5 separate regions of the Homo sapiens genome follow, and regions 1, 3, 4 and 5 are each linked to region 2. The links are contacts of gene promoters, found by promoter capture Hi-C in blood cells and fetal thymus (Javierre and others, 2016). All regions are on one chromosome and are shown on one strand. Each heading gives the region's core, a stretch centred on a gene start or on the middle of the fragment in contact. The rest is flanking DNA. Distances are from core to core; before and after follow the strand shown. Region 1 overlaps TANK-AS1 (TANK antisense RNA 1). Region 2 holds the start of FLJ46875 (a long non-coding RNA gene). Region 3 holds the start of ARL5A (ARF like GTPase 5A). Region 4 overlaps MARCHF7 (membrane associated ring-CH-type finger 7). Region 5 overlaps PRPF40A (pre-mRNA processing factor 40A).

The links. The method cuts DNA at HindIII sites, captures the fragments that hold promoters and counts their contacts. A CHiCAGO score of 5 or more calls a contact.
Region 1: a contact is called between a fragment that was not itself captured here and the fragment with the promoter of FLJ46875 in region 2, in 1 of 17 cell types (non-activated CD4 T cells). The highest score is 5.5, in non-activated CD4 T cells.
Region 3: a contact is called between a fragment that was not itself captured here and the fragment with the promoter of FLJ46875 in region 2, in 4 of 17 cell types (non-activated CD4 T cells, activated CD4 T cells, total B cells and 1 more). The highest score is 9.6, in non-activated CD4 T cells.
Region 4: a contact is called between a fragment that was not itself captured here and the fragment with the promoter of FLJ46875 in region 2, in 1 of 17 cell types (total CD4 T cells). The highest score is 5.7, in total CD4 T cells.
Region 5: a contact is called between a fragment that was not itself captured here and the fragment with the promoter of FLJ46875 in region 2, in 2 of 17 cell types (total B cells and total CD8 T cells). The highest score is 9.7, in total B cells.

Annotation. Positions count from the first base shown.
Region 1 is chr2:161,134,527-161,137,326 of GRCh38, reverse strand. All of the region lies in intron 2 of TANK-AS1 (TANK antisense RNA 1), which reads left to right. It also overlaps a transcript of TANK not described here. Among named protein-coding and RNA genes, the nearest start is that of TANK-AS1, 24 kb to the left of the region's middle. RefSeq lists an enhancer at 190-529. The HindIII fragment of the contact is 1,209 bases long and covers 811-2,019 here.
Region 2 is chr2:156,340,740-156,343,439 of GRCh38, reverse strand. FLJ46875 (a long non-coding RNA gene) reads left to right here and starts at 1,320. Exons shown (of 1, transcript NR_147695.1): 1 at 1,320-2,700. RefSeq lists enhancers at 39-98, 1,306-1,859, 1,860-2,415 and silencers at 509-1,118, 1,659-1,758. The HindIII fragment of the contact is 3,407 bases long and covers 1-2,015 here.
Region 3 is chr2:151,825,998-151,828,697 of GRCh38, reverse strand. ARL5A (ARF like GTPase 5A) reads left to right here and starts at 277. Exons shown (of 6, transcript NM_012097.4): 1 at 277-567. The coding sequence starts at 522. RefSeq lists an enhancer at 1 and silencers at 52-561, 612-661. The HindIII fragment of the contact is 507 bases long and covers 1,194-1,700 here.
Region 4 is chr2:159,714,342-159,717,041 of GRCh38, reverse strand. MARCHF7 (membrane associated ring-CH-type finger 7) reads right to left here. Exons shown (of 12, transcript NM_001282805.2): 2 at 2,444-2,485; 3 at 1,276-1,361. Among named protein-coding and RNA genes, the nearest start is that of MARCHF7, 3.2 kb to the right of the region's middle. The HindIII fragment of the contact is 916 bases long and covers 989-1,904 here.
Region 5 is chr2:152,712,729-152,715,440 of GRCh38, reverse strand. All of the region lies in intron 2 of PRPF40A (pre-mRNA processing factor 40A), which reads left to right. Among named protein-coding and RNA genes, the nearest start is that of PRPF40A, 3.4 kb to the left of the region's middle. The HindIII fragment of the contact is 1,843 bases long and covers 368-2,210 here.

The DNA.
Region 1 (2,800 bases), core at 166-2,665, 4.8 Mb before region 2:
GCCTCAAACTCCTGGGCTCAAGTGATCCTCTTACCTTGGCCTCCCAAAGTGCTAGGATTATAGGCATGACCCACCACGTCCAGCCATTTTTTAAAGGCCAAATTTCTAACTATGACGTTAACTACAAAGGCATTATTGAATCATGTCATAAATTACTCACATAGCAAGAGTAAGAGGGTAACACATCTGCAACACTTCAGTTTAAGACATCCAGGCCCCTTTCCTAGGTTAAGAATCAGTAGGAACTATTGAAATTAGATTACCTCTTCTCCAGGTTACAAGTCTTCCTTTGTAGACTATTCCTCTGTAAAGATGAAGACAGTTACACAGTTGTAAAGTGTTTTCCACAGGCTCTAACAATGCTGCTCAAACTGTCCAGAGCTCTCCCTTATGTTGAAGTGGGAACTTCCACTGAGAAATCCCCCAACTTGAAGACTTCCTTATTTGTAGCTAGCAACAGCCAATCATGGCACGATACTGAAATGAAGCAAAGACTATCAGAAAATATTCTGTAAACCACTCGTGACTGTAGCTCTGACTTCCTTTTGAAGCAAGATACTTTATGTGAATAGTTAAGGCATTTTAACAACAACAACAACAACAAAAACCCCAGGAATTGTAAACACAAAAATACTTTTGGATTAAGCATTTTATGTAAGAAAATTTAAAAGTTCAGTTTATTTGATAAGTGGCTTTTTAACCTTTAAGAAGTCGCTTTTTGACCTAAGAAGCATGTTTATAAACAGGAGGTAAAAACCAAATTTGATTATAGTTGTCTTTATGGCCTACAGAAGTCACTTGGAAGAAGCTTTGTAGTAATAAGGTTTAAGCTCAATTGCAGAGCCTGAGCTTAGGTACTCAGAAGAGAGGTGAAGCAAACAAGGCTCTTAAGACAGCTTTTCTGCCTTGAGAACTTAAGGTTCACTGTTCGTGGGATAAAAGTGTGTTCCAGCAAACTCGGGAAATGCTTTACAAATACATGTATTTCTCTTAGGTTGCTTAGAGCAAAACATCACATTTTACATGCAAACGGAAGACAGCATGTGCACCACAGACATTTTTCTTTGATATAAAATTTTAGAGCTGGAAATGTCCTTAGACAACATCTGTTCCATTTCCTTTTTATTACAGATGAGGGAAACAGGAGAAGGTAAATGCTCAATGTCACAAGTAAAGTTAGAAGCAGCGCTTAGATTAAAATGTGAGTCTTTTGAATCCAAGTGCATTTCTTTTTTTTACTGCACTACACTCTTGGCATATAAAGTTACTGAGCTGGATAAAAACTGAATTAAGCAGTCTCCTTTTTCAGCTCCTGCATTTTACAGATGAGAAGTCTGAGGCTTTACCTAAACTTCAACAGTTATTAAAAGGTCTAGAATTTAGAACTTCTGATTCTTAGTCTAGTTTGTTTTCCACTTTGAAACACTGCCCTCTCTTAAATTATATGTTAAATAAATCTGAGATATTGCTACTTATGATGAAATTATTCTATAAAAAATAATTTCAAAAGTATCTAAAATGCTGAATAAACTTATGATTAAAGGCTTCTACGTACTCATCTAACATACAATGAAGCATTACATTTCTTTTGGAACTATGGGTTTTATAACTATCTTACTGATGAAATGCTAAATATTAAATGCTATTGTGTGCAATGGAAAAATAAAACCAACCTATCCCGTGCTGTAAATATAGCAAAACAAACCAACAAAAAAGTGAGATAGCCACTAGTGAAAGGAAAACTTACTTCTTAAGAATTTACAGTTTTGAATGAGCAGAGTTTTAAAAACACAGCTTTTAAAAAAAGCAGCGCTCCTGTCTAGACTGGGAAATGCCCCTTTCTTTGGTCTCTTCATCCTGTGCCCCCTCCCTCCTCTATTTACTTTGGCATTTGAGCTTGGCTGACACCCAGGATCCTGCAGAACTGGCTACTCCAGGGTATGCTGGCCTCAATCTGGTGGGGCATTGTTTGAGAGAGGGTCCTACAGCCAAAACAGAGAAGCTACAGTTAGAGAAGCTTTTTGAAGAAATTCTGAGTACATGAAATTTAAAACCTATGCCACTAACCAGTTCTAGACTAGGCAAAATATGTGAGGCAGATGGAAGTTTTAATTTTTGTCGTCTCTAGTAGTTCCTTTTCCTATTTCCCTACTCCCCACCTTTTTCCTTCTCTTGGAGTCGTAAATCAAGTGACTAGGGCTGACAAAAATGCAGAAATTCCTTCAGAGGAGGAAGCAAACTGGTACTAAGCCAGGATTGGCAAGGGTTAGGGTATAATGACCAGGGCAGGAGTGGGATGAGCAGCTCCAAGCCCAAGTTAGAGGGTGGGAGGCAAAACTCAGGTTCCTATTCAGGGAGAGAAGAATGGCTGAGGGGAGTTACTAGTCAAAGAATGCGGACATCACTGCCCGGGGGCAGCAGGATTCTCAGGGCAGGTCTGGTCGAAAGGCCTCCCTAAGAAGAATCCTGGAAATTTTTTTTTTAGTGAAAGTGGAGAGCAAGAAAGCCAGGTCTCTTAATTGCTAACTAGGATTTAGAAATAGGTTCCCTCCTTCGGAGGGAGACCCAGGTGCCTGCGACTCTGGCCAAGTAGCTAGTTAGGTAGCCAGGCTGCATGGGGTGGGTGTTTGATTGAGAAACTTGGTTCAGATGATCACATGGACACCTACAGGACGAATTCATGCTCTAGGCACAGTATTTGTGAAAACAGCATGTTTTCCAGGCTCTACTTGCTGGTGGGCTGATGCTTCAGGATTTTATTGGCCTGTGGCCACAGCAGGGCTGATGCTAAGGGGAATTG
Region 2 (2,700 bases), core at 71-2,570:
CAGTTTTATAGTCTATTAATTGTTGGTCCAAGAAAACAGATTACCTCCAGTTGTATGTGGGTACCTTAATGAGTAGGACAAGTGTCAGGGTGTGTGACAGAATTGCCTGAGTATGGAAGGTAGCAGTGAGAGTCTCCACAAAAATATTAATACTTTCCTATAGAGAAAGCCCCTTTTAAAGTGGGAGCCTTTATTAAAGTCCAGAGTTAAAAAGTAAGCTCTTTAACGTTGAGATTATAGACTTTTAGAAAGTTCATTTATGCCATGTTTCAGGCCTATGCTAAATTCTACGGCAAAAAGACCTGTAAATGCACCGGAGCTGACAGCCTGGGTCCTGGAACCCTTCCTCACGCTGCTACTACGGGGCACCCTTTCTATAATACAACCCCCCGAATGAAAACACTAATGCAAGCCTGGCCCCACAAAAACCTAGATAATGCTTACGTTGAAGACGACAGGTTTTTCGCTTTTGTTTTCGGTTGAGGACTTACTACCCCAAAAACACATCCGACCTGTACTAGAATAGGTGTGTGAGGGAGCGGGAAAAGCTCGGGTCATTTTAACTGGACTAGAAAGGAACACAGCGATCCCCTCACTAAACTTGTCGCCAAGTTCCCTCCTCGCCATCCCAGGGTGCGGGAAAAACCCCCTCCCGCCCCGGGGCCCCGGCAGCACTCGGGGACGCCAGCACGCCGGGCTCCTTCCCACCCGCGAACCGCGCTCCCCGCAGGGCGGGCCGGGGCGGGGAAAAAGGAGCTCGACGCGAAGGGCCGCGGGCGGCCTGGGAAGGGAGGAGGGAGACTTGGGAGGCTGCCGGGCGGTTTTATTGTTTCCTTTCGCCCTCCTCCTACCGCGCCTCCGCCCCAGCGTCACTGGAAAGCCGCCCGAGCCGCCCGGCGGCAGGTTATTTATAGCGCGGGCTGCGCGCGCGTCACGGAGCCCGGCCCGGCTGACGGGGCCGCTGACGCGCTTGGCCGCGGGGCCGAGTCCGCGGGGCTGCGCGCCGGACGCCGGCGACAATGGGCTTCTGTGTGCAGCTGCCGCAGCCGCCGGGGGCCGGGGGCCGGGGGCCGGGGGAGGGGGGCGGGCGACTCCCCGGCTCCCTTCTTGGTCGGCCGCGACCCCCCGAAAGGTAACAGGCCTCTTTCGCCCCCGGCCAGGACCTGGGCCCTGTGGGCTTTTTTTTTTTCCATTTTATCAGTAAGTTCCCCTTGTCCCAGCCTCCGCTTTCACTTCCCGCGTTCCCTCCACCCCAAAAACCGCCCCAACATGTCCAGAGAGGGGCATCTACCCAGCCGCCCAGCCAGGGGCGACCACTTTGTGAGCCCCGGGGAGCGGGACCCGTACCAGGCGCGCCCAGCGGGGGATGCGGTGACCGAGGGGCCGGGAGCGCCGGGCAGGTAACGTATCCTGGACCTAGAGTCGGGGGACTTTGTTTGGGGCGGGAGGAGCGGAACAGGGGTGGGTGTGAACGCCGGACGGCCCTTCCGGGACTCCTGTCCCCCCTCCTTCGCCCCACTCGCCTGCGCGCTGGAAGCCAATCTGGGTGTGTAGCGCGAAGAGCGAAAGAGAAACTTCTGCGTGACTGACTAGATGAGGCTCCTCCCGAGAAGCCGAGATAATAGAGGCCCCCTCTCCCGCCGCCCGCCTTTTTCTCCTCCCCCGGCCGCTCGCTCCTGTCGCCCCACCCCTCGAAGGCTGCGGACCAGCCCCCCACACTTCCCCCTACACCTCTGGCGGGTTCGCGCCGTGGACGCCCCCGCCCTGCGGGAGGAGGGGCTGGCGCGGATTTTAGGGACTTCCTGGGATGCGGAGATCGGCTCTGAACCATCCCCTTTCTGCTGCCCGGAGCTGGGGAAGCTCGCTGTGGAGCGTCTCGCACGTGGCAGGCAGGCAGAGAACTTGCTGCACCTTCTAGGAAATTGCAATCGATTTGTAATGCACTTTCGCTAATTGGGAGTTCAAAATTAAACTTTAATAAAGCATTCGTGTCGTCTCGTCTAATTGTGAAAGCTTCCATCCGTCCTGGTAGATAGACTCTAAGTCTCAAGTTAATGGCGCTAAGCTAGATTTTCCCCCCAAGTACAATTCCGTCAGCCGTCGTCGGCGCAGCTGGATTTCCGTAAGGTACAGATGTTGCTAATGACAGCTTAAGCACGGATGGGCAGATAGCATACGGAATGCAACATGTTGCCATATGGTTCCTTTAGCCTTTCACCTCCAGGGATATCAATCACATATATTCTGGGAGGAACTTAATGACTCTCTGAACAGCAAAATGAATTACCTGGTACAATTTATATCCCTTGACCTGATACGTTATAACAACAGGAAGATAGCATCTCGCAATTTCTGTGGTATAAATTGAACTACAGAGCTACATTTAAAATTCTACATCTATTTGTAGTTTAAGGGGCCCTGTCATATTCTGGCTGTAAAATCTGTTTCTGTATTGCCCATCTCCTTCCCCCTCCTACCTCTGGAGGAAGCAAAATTTATAAAGTTTAGCAAAACTGGTGTCGGAAATTGCCAGTCAACTGATTAATAGATGAAGTATGGAGAAATGGAAAATATGACTTCCAGAGCTACTTACTTCAACAAGAATTAGCCATCTTTAGGAACACCATACTTTTAAGCGTACAAAATTAAAGAACTCCAGAAAATGTATTTTCTGCTAGTTGTTTCAGTATAGCTCCTAAA
Region 3 (2,700 bases), core at 198-2,697, 4.5 Mb after region 2:
GGGGACGCAACAGCAAGCAGTCGGAAGCCATCTGCCCCAACTTGCGGTCTTCACAGCCTCAGTCCCAGGGTAAAGTCCTGCGCCTTCCGCAGTCTTGGTTATGCAAATAAGCGAGGACAGGGCGGGCGCCCTTTCCTACGCTCCGCCCCTCTGGCCGCGCGCCTGCGCACTCACGTCCCTCCAGGCCCGCCCCTTCACTTCCCCCGCCCGCGTGGTCGTCGCCACCGCAGCCGCCCGAGAGGAGCTGGGGGAGGACGGTGGCCCGCGAGGCTCGTCGCAGACAACGCGGCGGCGATGTCCGCGAGCCAGGCGAGTGCCGCGGCGGCAGCGGCGGGGCCTTGCGCGCGGCAGGGCGGCCTGGGCTTCGGCCTCCCTCCGGTTCCCTGGAAGCGGGCCCGCGACCAGCGCGGGAGCAGCAGCAGAGGCGGAGGCTCCAGCGCGTCTCTCTCCTCCCCCTCAGCCTGAGCCGGGGGAAGCCAGGCGGCCCGGGTGTCTGGAGGGGGGGGGTCCGCTGCCCGAGAATGGGAATTCTCTTCACTAGAATATGGAGACTGTTCAATCACCAGGGTGAGGAGCTCGGTCCGCGGGCGTACGGGTTGGGGAGAGGGTCAGCTCGGGCCGGCTAGGTGGGGGTCTCCGAATACTTCGGAATGTGGGCGGCTCGGTCGGGCGCCAGCTCAGCGCGGGGTGCAGGCTGCGCGGATACGGGCCCGGGACGGTTCGGTCCCGGCTCCCGAGCTTGGGGATGGTTCCTGACTCGCAGCCCTTTGTCTTAGGAGACCTTCCTAAGAAGTCTTTTCCGTAATAGACCCATTGCTCCGATTTCGAATGAGAGTGGTAAAGGTTTCTTGCCCTAGGTCCGACGTCCCTGAGTAGCACGGCCTGGCCTGTCTTTCAGCCCTTTCTTTGCTCACCAGTTGTGTTTGGACACCACATAGAAGTGCTGGGGTCTTCTGGAATGAAGGTTATAGATTGCTGCCCTAACCGCACCACTGAGCGACCGAGGGTTGCAGAATGCGGAAAACGGGAGGAATCGCTCGACTTGTCCATTACACCTCTGGTTTATGAGCCTGCCCTCCACTGCCACCCGTCTTTGTGTGTGTTGGGGGCAGGGGGGGTTCTTCTGCCTCCTGAATAGAGATGGACTTCTCTCCATTTGTTTTACTTATTATATCTGTGTTTAAGGTTAAGCTTAAGGTCATTTTTCTACTCGTGTGGGTTATTAGACACAGTTTTTGTTTGTTTTGCTGGGTTAAAAATGTTAAAGTGTTTCACTGAAAGTTTTAAAAACATACCATATGAAACATTTGTTAACCATAGGTAACTAGCAAGTTACTAAGTGTAAAGTGTGTTATATAGGGATGCTTAAGTTCAGCCAACTTCAGACATGGCCATGAAATACCTATCAGGCTTGTTAAAATTTGTTACAAAATGACTAAAACTGGGGAAAGAGAATACAATTTTAACCCAAAGACTGGATACTTATTAAGATACAGTGGTGTACTTTTGTTTCTTTTTAACTCAAGTTGGGTGGTTCATCATTCCGCTGTCAGGAACTTAGTTTGTGTTTTTCTGTTGTGTAAGCTGATGGTGTCACGTCCCAGTTTTCCAATAAAGACTTACGTGAATGGTGGCATCTATTATGTACACCTACTACTACCACCTCCTCCTTCATGATCTAGCTGCTCTTTTAAGAAGCTTAGGGGAAGCAAGCAGAACTAGAACTTGTGATCCCTAATGTATCTTTTACGCACACACACACACACACAGATGTGTAGGTCACGTGATACCGAAAGAAAGGGCAGTATCAATTTTTCTGATAAGAGGATTTTTCATAAAGTAGAGAAAATCAGTTCTAATCAGCACTGTCTCTGACTGGACTGGCTGTTAGTGTTGGGAGCAGGAGAGTGGGAAGCAGTCACTTGAACTCTCAGGTTTTCTGGTCTAGGTTTTCTCACCTAGAACACCAGGGATCTGTGGAGCTTCCAAATCTTGTAAACTTTATTTCTACATTGCAAATATTAAAACGTACATTGCTGTAAGACTGATGGTACTTATAGTAGATAAGATCTATTCTAGTTTTAACATCCATCATTTTGTATTATTTTTAGCAAAGCTAGTGTTTCATCTGCTGTGAGGTTTAGCAAGACTGTGAATTGAGCTCTAGTGCTGCCAGAAAAAGAGTTATCACCACTTTCTATTTTGAGTCAATGATAAAATTATTTGTTTCTGTAAGTTAAGAATAAATGAGAACTTTGCCAACAGCTCCTTGGAGTAGTAAATAATAAGGGTGTGTGCTCTGGTATCACTACAAATTGCTAATAGTAGTGTTTTTATAACCTGTATTTTGTGGTAATTTTTGACGGGACATTTATGGCAGTTTGGCGGAAATTAATAGAGAAATTAATGAAGTTAAGTTCTAGAAAATTAGATATGAATATTGTGAAAGTGTGAATAAATTATTTATTTTCTGCTAAACAGTGTGGCTGTCTTATCAATAGGGTCACTTTTCCGAATATCCACCATTTAATCTAATGCCAGATATTTGTTGGGTTTTGTTTTTGTTTTTGTTTTTTTGAGATGGAGTCTTGCTCTGTCACCAGGCTGGAGTGCAGTGGTGTGATCTTGGCCCACTGCAACCTGTGCCTCCTGGGTTCAAGCGATTCTCCTGCCTCAGCCTCCCGAGTGGCTGGACTACAG
Region 4 (2,700 bases), core at 197-2,696, 3.4 Mb before region 2:
GGATCTCCCAGCCAGGGAAATCCTCCAGCTGAATGCTGGTACATGAGGAGTAAGCCCCGGGCAAAATCAGTAGAACTGCCCAACAGGCACCTAGAACTGTAAAAAACAGTGAACAGTTGTTTTAATCCACTAGGTCCCGAGGTGGTTTGTTATGCAGCCATAGAACAAAGATTCATTACTTATCCTTATTTTCTACTGTTACCATACCATTATCTTATGCCTGCAGTCTCTGAAAACTCTGATTTTAACTGAGTCTAACCTGGGAACTATCTTAAATATCCAGGGAAGATTACAGGTACTGAATTACTAAAAGTACACCACTACTATAGGATAAACTCATGGCACAAAGGCCAGAGCAATCACACAAAATACCAATGTAATCTATCATTTTTTTTTTTGGAGACAGGGTCTCACTCTGCTGCCCAGGCCAGAGTGCAGTGGTGCAATCACTGCAGCCTCGACCTCCTGGGTTCAAGTGATCCTCCCACCTCAGCCTCCTGAGTAGCCTGGACTACAGGCACGCACCACCATACCCAGCTAATTGTTGTATTTTTTTTAGTAGAGACGGGGTTTCATCATGTTGCCCAGGATGGTCTTGAACTCCTGAGCTCAAGCAATCTGCCTGTCTCGGCCTCCCAAAGCGCTGGGATTACAGGAGTGAGCCACCATGCCCAGCCCCAATGCAATATTTCAAGAGTCTTGCAGAAATACAAACACGCAGTTACTATTTCATTATTTACATATACTTTGCATATCCTTTTCTTAAAAAAAAAAATCTGCTTCTGGGGAAATTTTTTTTTTCCTTAGTGGGAAATCATAGTAAACATGGAGACATGGAAGCTAAGGGTGGGTCAATGAGGGAATCACTTTGAAAGTATACAACATTTTGGGCCTTAAAAAAAAGTCTCCCTTAACTAACTTTTAGCTGACAAATACTTAAAACACAAAAATATGACATGCCCAAATCTTAAAAAATTAGAAAAAAGCTTAACATCCCATGAGAAAATATGACTATGATGTTAAGTCTACACTACACCACTGTAAAAGGCAAACTGTTCTCCTTGAAATGAATTTAATCTCTAAGCATCAAGTTTCGATCTTAAGTAGAAACCATTTTAGGGTTCTTTCTACAAAGTATGAAACATCACACTAATGAACAATGATCATAATGGAAAGATAACTACTTTTAAGGTTCAAAACTTGCCTTCTTTTTAAGCTGTTGACAAAAATGGGTGTAGAGCAGCAGGTGATTTTAAAACCAGGTGTTCAACTTACCTAGTCTAACCGGTAGAGTCAGAGAAATATATTTGAGGGCAGGAAAAACCAGCTCTGACCATGTAAGTTCATGCCAGGGCAGAAAGCTGAAAATTAAGATTAATGAAAATTAAACCCCAGCATGCAGTGACTCACACTCAGGCCTGTAATCACAGCGCTTTGGGAGGCTGAGGTGGGAGGATTCCTTGAGCTAAGGAGTTGGAGACCAGCCTGGGAAACATGGTGAAACTGTCTCTATAAAAAAATATAAAAATTAGTCAGACATGGTGGCGCGCACCTGTAGTCCCAGCTACCCAGGAAGCTGAGGTGGGAGAACTGCTTGAGTCTGGGAGACTGCGGCTGCAGCAGCCTAAAAAACAGAGTGAGACCCTGTCACACACTCACACACACAAAATTATTACCCCCCCCACCTAAACTCTCAAATTATAATTTCATTCTCCCCAACTTCAGACTTTTTGGCTCATCCTATGATTAGCAAATGCTGTATATTAAGATAAATTTTTTGACTGCAATTGAATTCTGCTTTGGTGAATTCAAGTAATCTTAGTAGGAACTCAAAATCCGATTCTTTTTAAATTGTAATCATTCTAATGTGATCAGTTGATTCACTTATTTAACAGTTAAAAGCTTCATTAGTTAATTTGTTGTTTAAAAGTAAAGTCTAATGCAACGCTGTGCATTTCATTCATTCATGTCCCATTGTTCTTTATTACTGGCACTTAATTATCTGTGGTAACAGAAGGATGTATCAGCAAAGATTATCTAAAAATTATTTTTATTTTGTTAAGGAACACAATAGCTCTCCATTCCGCAGCATAGAGCACTAACTTTATTTTTATTTTTTTAGAGACAGGGTCTCACTCTGTGGTGCAGGCTGGAGTGCAGTGGAGCTCTATCATACCTCACTGCAGTCTCTGCAACTCGTGAGCTCAAAATGATCGTTCTGCCTCAGCAGCCCAAGTAGCTAGTAGTAGCAGTGCGCACCACTACACCCGCACCACCATGCCCGTAGAGATGGGGTCTTTGTGGCCTGGCTGAACTCCCAGCCTTAAGCGATCCTCCCACCTTGGCCTCCCAAAGTGACGGGATTACAGGAGTGAGCCACCACACCCAGACACTAATTTTCTAGTACAGTACAGAAAGTCTTTTATGTCGGGCTCTAACTTACCATTCAATGTATGTTTCAGCTACAGGAACAAATCATGAATTCCTAAAACAAACCATAATATCATGACTTTGCAGTTTCTTTATCAAAGTCCTAGTGAGCCTTCACATCTTAGTTCAGGCAATAAATAAATAAATCCTGTAAAATTTCCAAGATTAAGCACCCCTCCCCTATGCTCCCACAGAACCACTGTACAGTCATATTAAGATAATAATAGTTGTTTATACATTAGTCTGATGACTAAACAGTGAGTTGTGGAG
Region 5 (2,712 bases), core at 40-2,539, 3.6 Mb after region 2:
ACTTATACTATTTTTTTTTAATGCTTGTTGCTTCTACACTCCTGCTTATGAGCTGTCCCTTCCATCTCTAGCATAAATTGTAAATGGACATTTTGTAGGAGTGATTTGGATCAAAAGGTTTTAATGCTGATTCAGTGATTTCGGTAGAACTGAGTTTCTAGAGAAGCATCCAAGAAAGGTAACAGGTTCAGTTACCATGAGTAATTTTGTGCTTCATGTTAAGTTCTATAATAGATCTTTAGGTGGCTGGGTTATTTCCATTTGAGTATTTCCATAAATCATCAAAAATTTAGGCTAACAAAATATTTTGGAAGCCAATTTCATGTGATCTTTTGCTAATTAGTACTGTTTGATAATTGTTTAAGCTTTCATGGTTAAAGTTATTGGTGAAATTGCAGTGGGAAAAGGAGCTTGCTATGTGTCTGTCTCTTTTTACTTAACCTTAAGAGTAGAAGGGCTTAATGTCCAGTGATTTTCCTCTTTTTTTTTTTAATTTGGAATATTGCCCTTAATTTTGTTAAAAAACAAAACAAAACCTTTATTCAAAGGCACCAGCCCCAAAAGATTCTGCTTGCAGGAGTTCTTTAAATAAAAGAGCCTTTTATTCTGTTACTCTAGAATAACACAAATTTTAAAACTCTCTAGGTGATGGAGAAACAACTTTGATTCCTCTTCTGTTTCTTTCCATCTCTAAGGAGCAAGGAGCTCTTCTTGTTTTCTTGGTAGAGCTGCTCTAACTAGATAATGAGCTTTAAAAATATTTATTCTTTAAATGCTCTGGTTCTTATTTAAAATTAGTTTCTTTCCACAGAAAGATAAAATAAAACAATTTGCTACTGCCAGATGCTTCTCTCTTTTCTGGGGCCTTCTGTTTCCATTGGGCCAATCAAGGTAAGTTTTGCAAGGGATTGACCTGCTTACCCTTGCTGTAATGGTGCTATTGCACTACCAAAACCAAGATACCAGCTAGTCATAGTTCTAGTTAAAAAAAAAAATGCAGATTTTATTTTTTAAAAGTACTTTCATGTATCTCATTGACATAAGCTGGTCACAGTTTGCTTTATGGCCCTTTCTCTTTAGCTGTATCAGTGACCATCTTTCTAGTAAGTTTACTTGCTACTCGGTACACATCCATTCAAATAACTGATTTTTTTGGTGTGGTTTTCTTCTACTTTTTCCTAGGCTAATATATGCCACGTGCCTTTAAGTAGACCTAATTATTTAGATGTTTAGAATTCTTCTCCCTCTGAAGGCTCCTGTTAGTATAATAAATAAATGTTTTAGTAGGAGTTATGCCCTGAAAGTCCCAAAAGAATCTCCGCTGTTTTTGTCAGAATTATATAATTCCCTTTTATCCCCTTAATATTTCACTAACAAATATGGGTCCCAAATCTTGGTAAAACAAATTCTTGTTTTAGCTTTATAACAGACTGGGAGAGCATGGATAATTTGAATTCTCAAATCAGAAATCATATTTGAAACTCTGTAAACATTGCTTTAAAAATTAAAGGTGATAATAAATAGGACAATTGATCCTTTTTCCTGCATTATTTCTTCTGCCACTCTTGGAAGTACTCAGGAGGAATAAGTGGTCAGAAGATAATTGAGAAGAAGCAGGATGTCTGTCTGTATCATTCACAGTAGTGACAGTTGGGAGGGTTCTGCCATGCAATTTAAAAAAGTCAGTTCACAAATTCTTTAGACTTTGGGACTGAAGGTTATAAAAACCTTCATGTGTTGACTGGTTTGCATGAACATCTCATGCTGGGACTAGCTAAAGACTAAAATTGGTGGCAGTCTTACTTGCCAAATAATTGTGGTCTTTGGAATGTTACCAATATGACATGAAACTGTAAAACTTGTTTGTAAAATAATATGCAGACTGGGTAGCATAATGATGTACGGAAGCCAGGGTTCATAATTTCTCAAATGCATCAAGCTATTTAGCTTAAAGAAGTGGTGTGTTCAAATTTTTTTTTTCTTAATTCATGAGATGACCTAGAGTGCCATCTCATGCATTTAGGCTGACTCTTAGTAGTAATAAATATTTGATGATTATCAAATTGAGCTTAATATTCTTTCAGGTTTATTTCAGTTTTCTATCTTGTAGATTAAATTTGCCTCTTATTCTATATAACTTTATAGGAAAGTCATACTTTTAGAGTTATAGGATCTTATAGCTGAAAGGGACCTTACAGGTTGTTTAAGCTTTAAATAATATGTGATTTAAGATGCTTTGAGGATCACTGGTTAAATGTTAGTAAAGAAAGATAAAGAATTTTCCCTGCTGGATGGCAGTACTCAAAAATTTCCCATTGGGAGGCTGAGGCGGGTGCATCGCTTGAGCTCAGGAGTTGGAGACCAGCCTGGGCAACATGGTGAAACCCCATCTCTACAAAAACTATTTAAAAATAAGCTGGGTGTGGTGGTGTGCGTCTGTCGTCCCAGCTACTTAGGGGGCTGAGGCAGAAGGATTGCTTGAACCTGGGAGGTCGAGGCTGCAGTGAGTCAAGATCACGCCTTGCACTCCATCCTGGGTGACAAAGTGAGACCCTATCTCAAAAAAATAAAGATTTTCTGTAGAGATTTCTATCAATAAAATTATGTGTGAGGCTGTCTTCTTCCTCAGTGTCCATAGTAAATACTGTTTTCATGTCTTTTGTGTTTTCTACACAAAGGACATGCAGGTCCTGCCATCTTTATCACAGATGA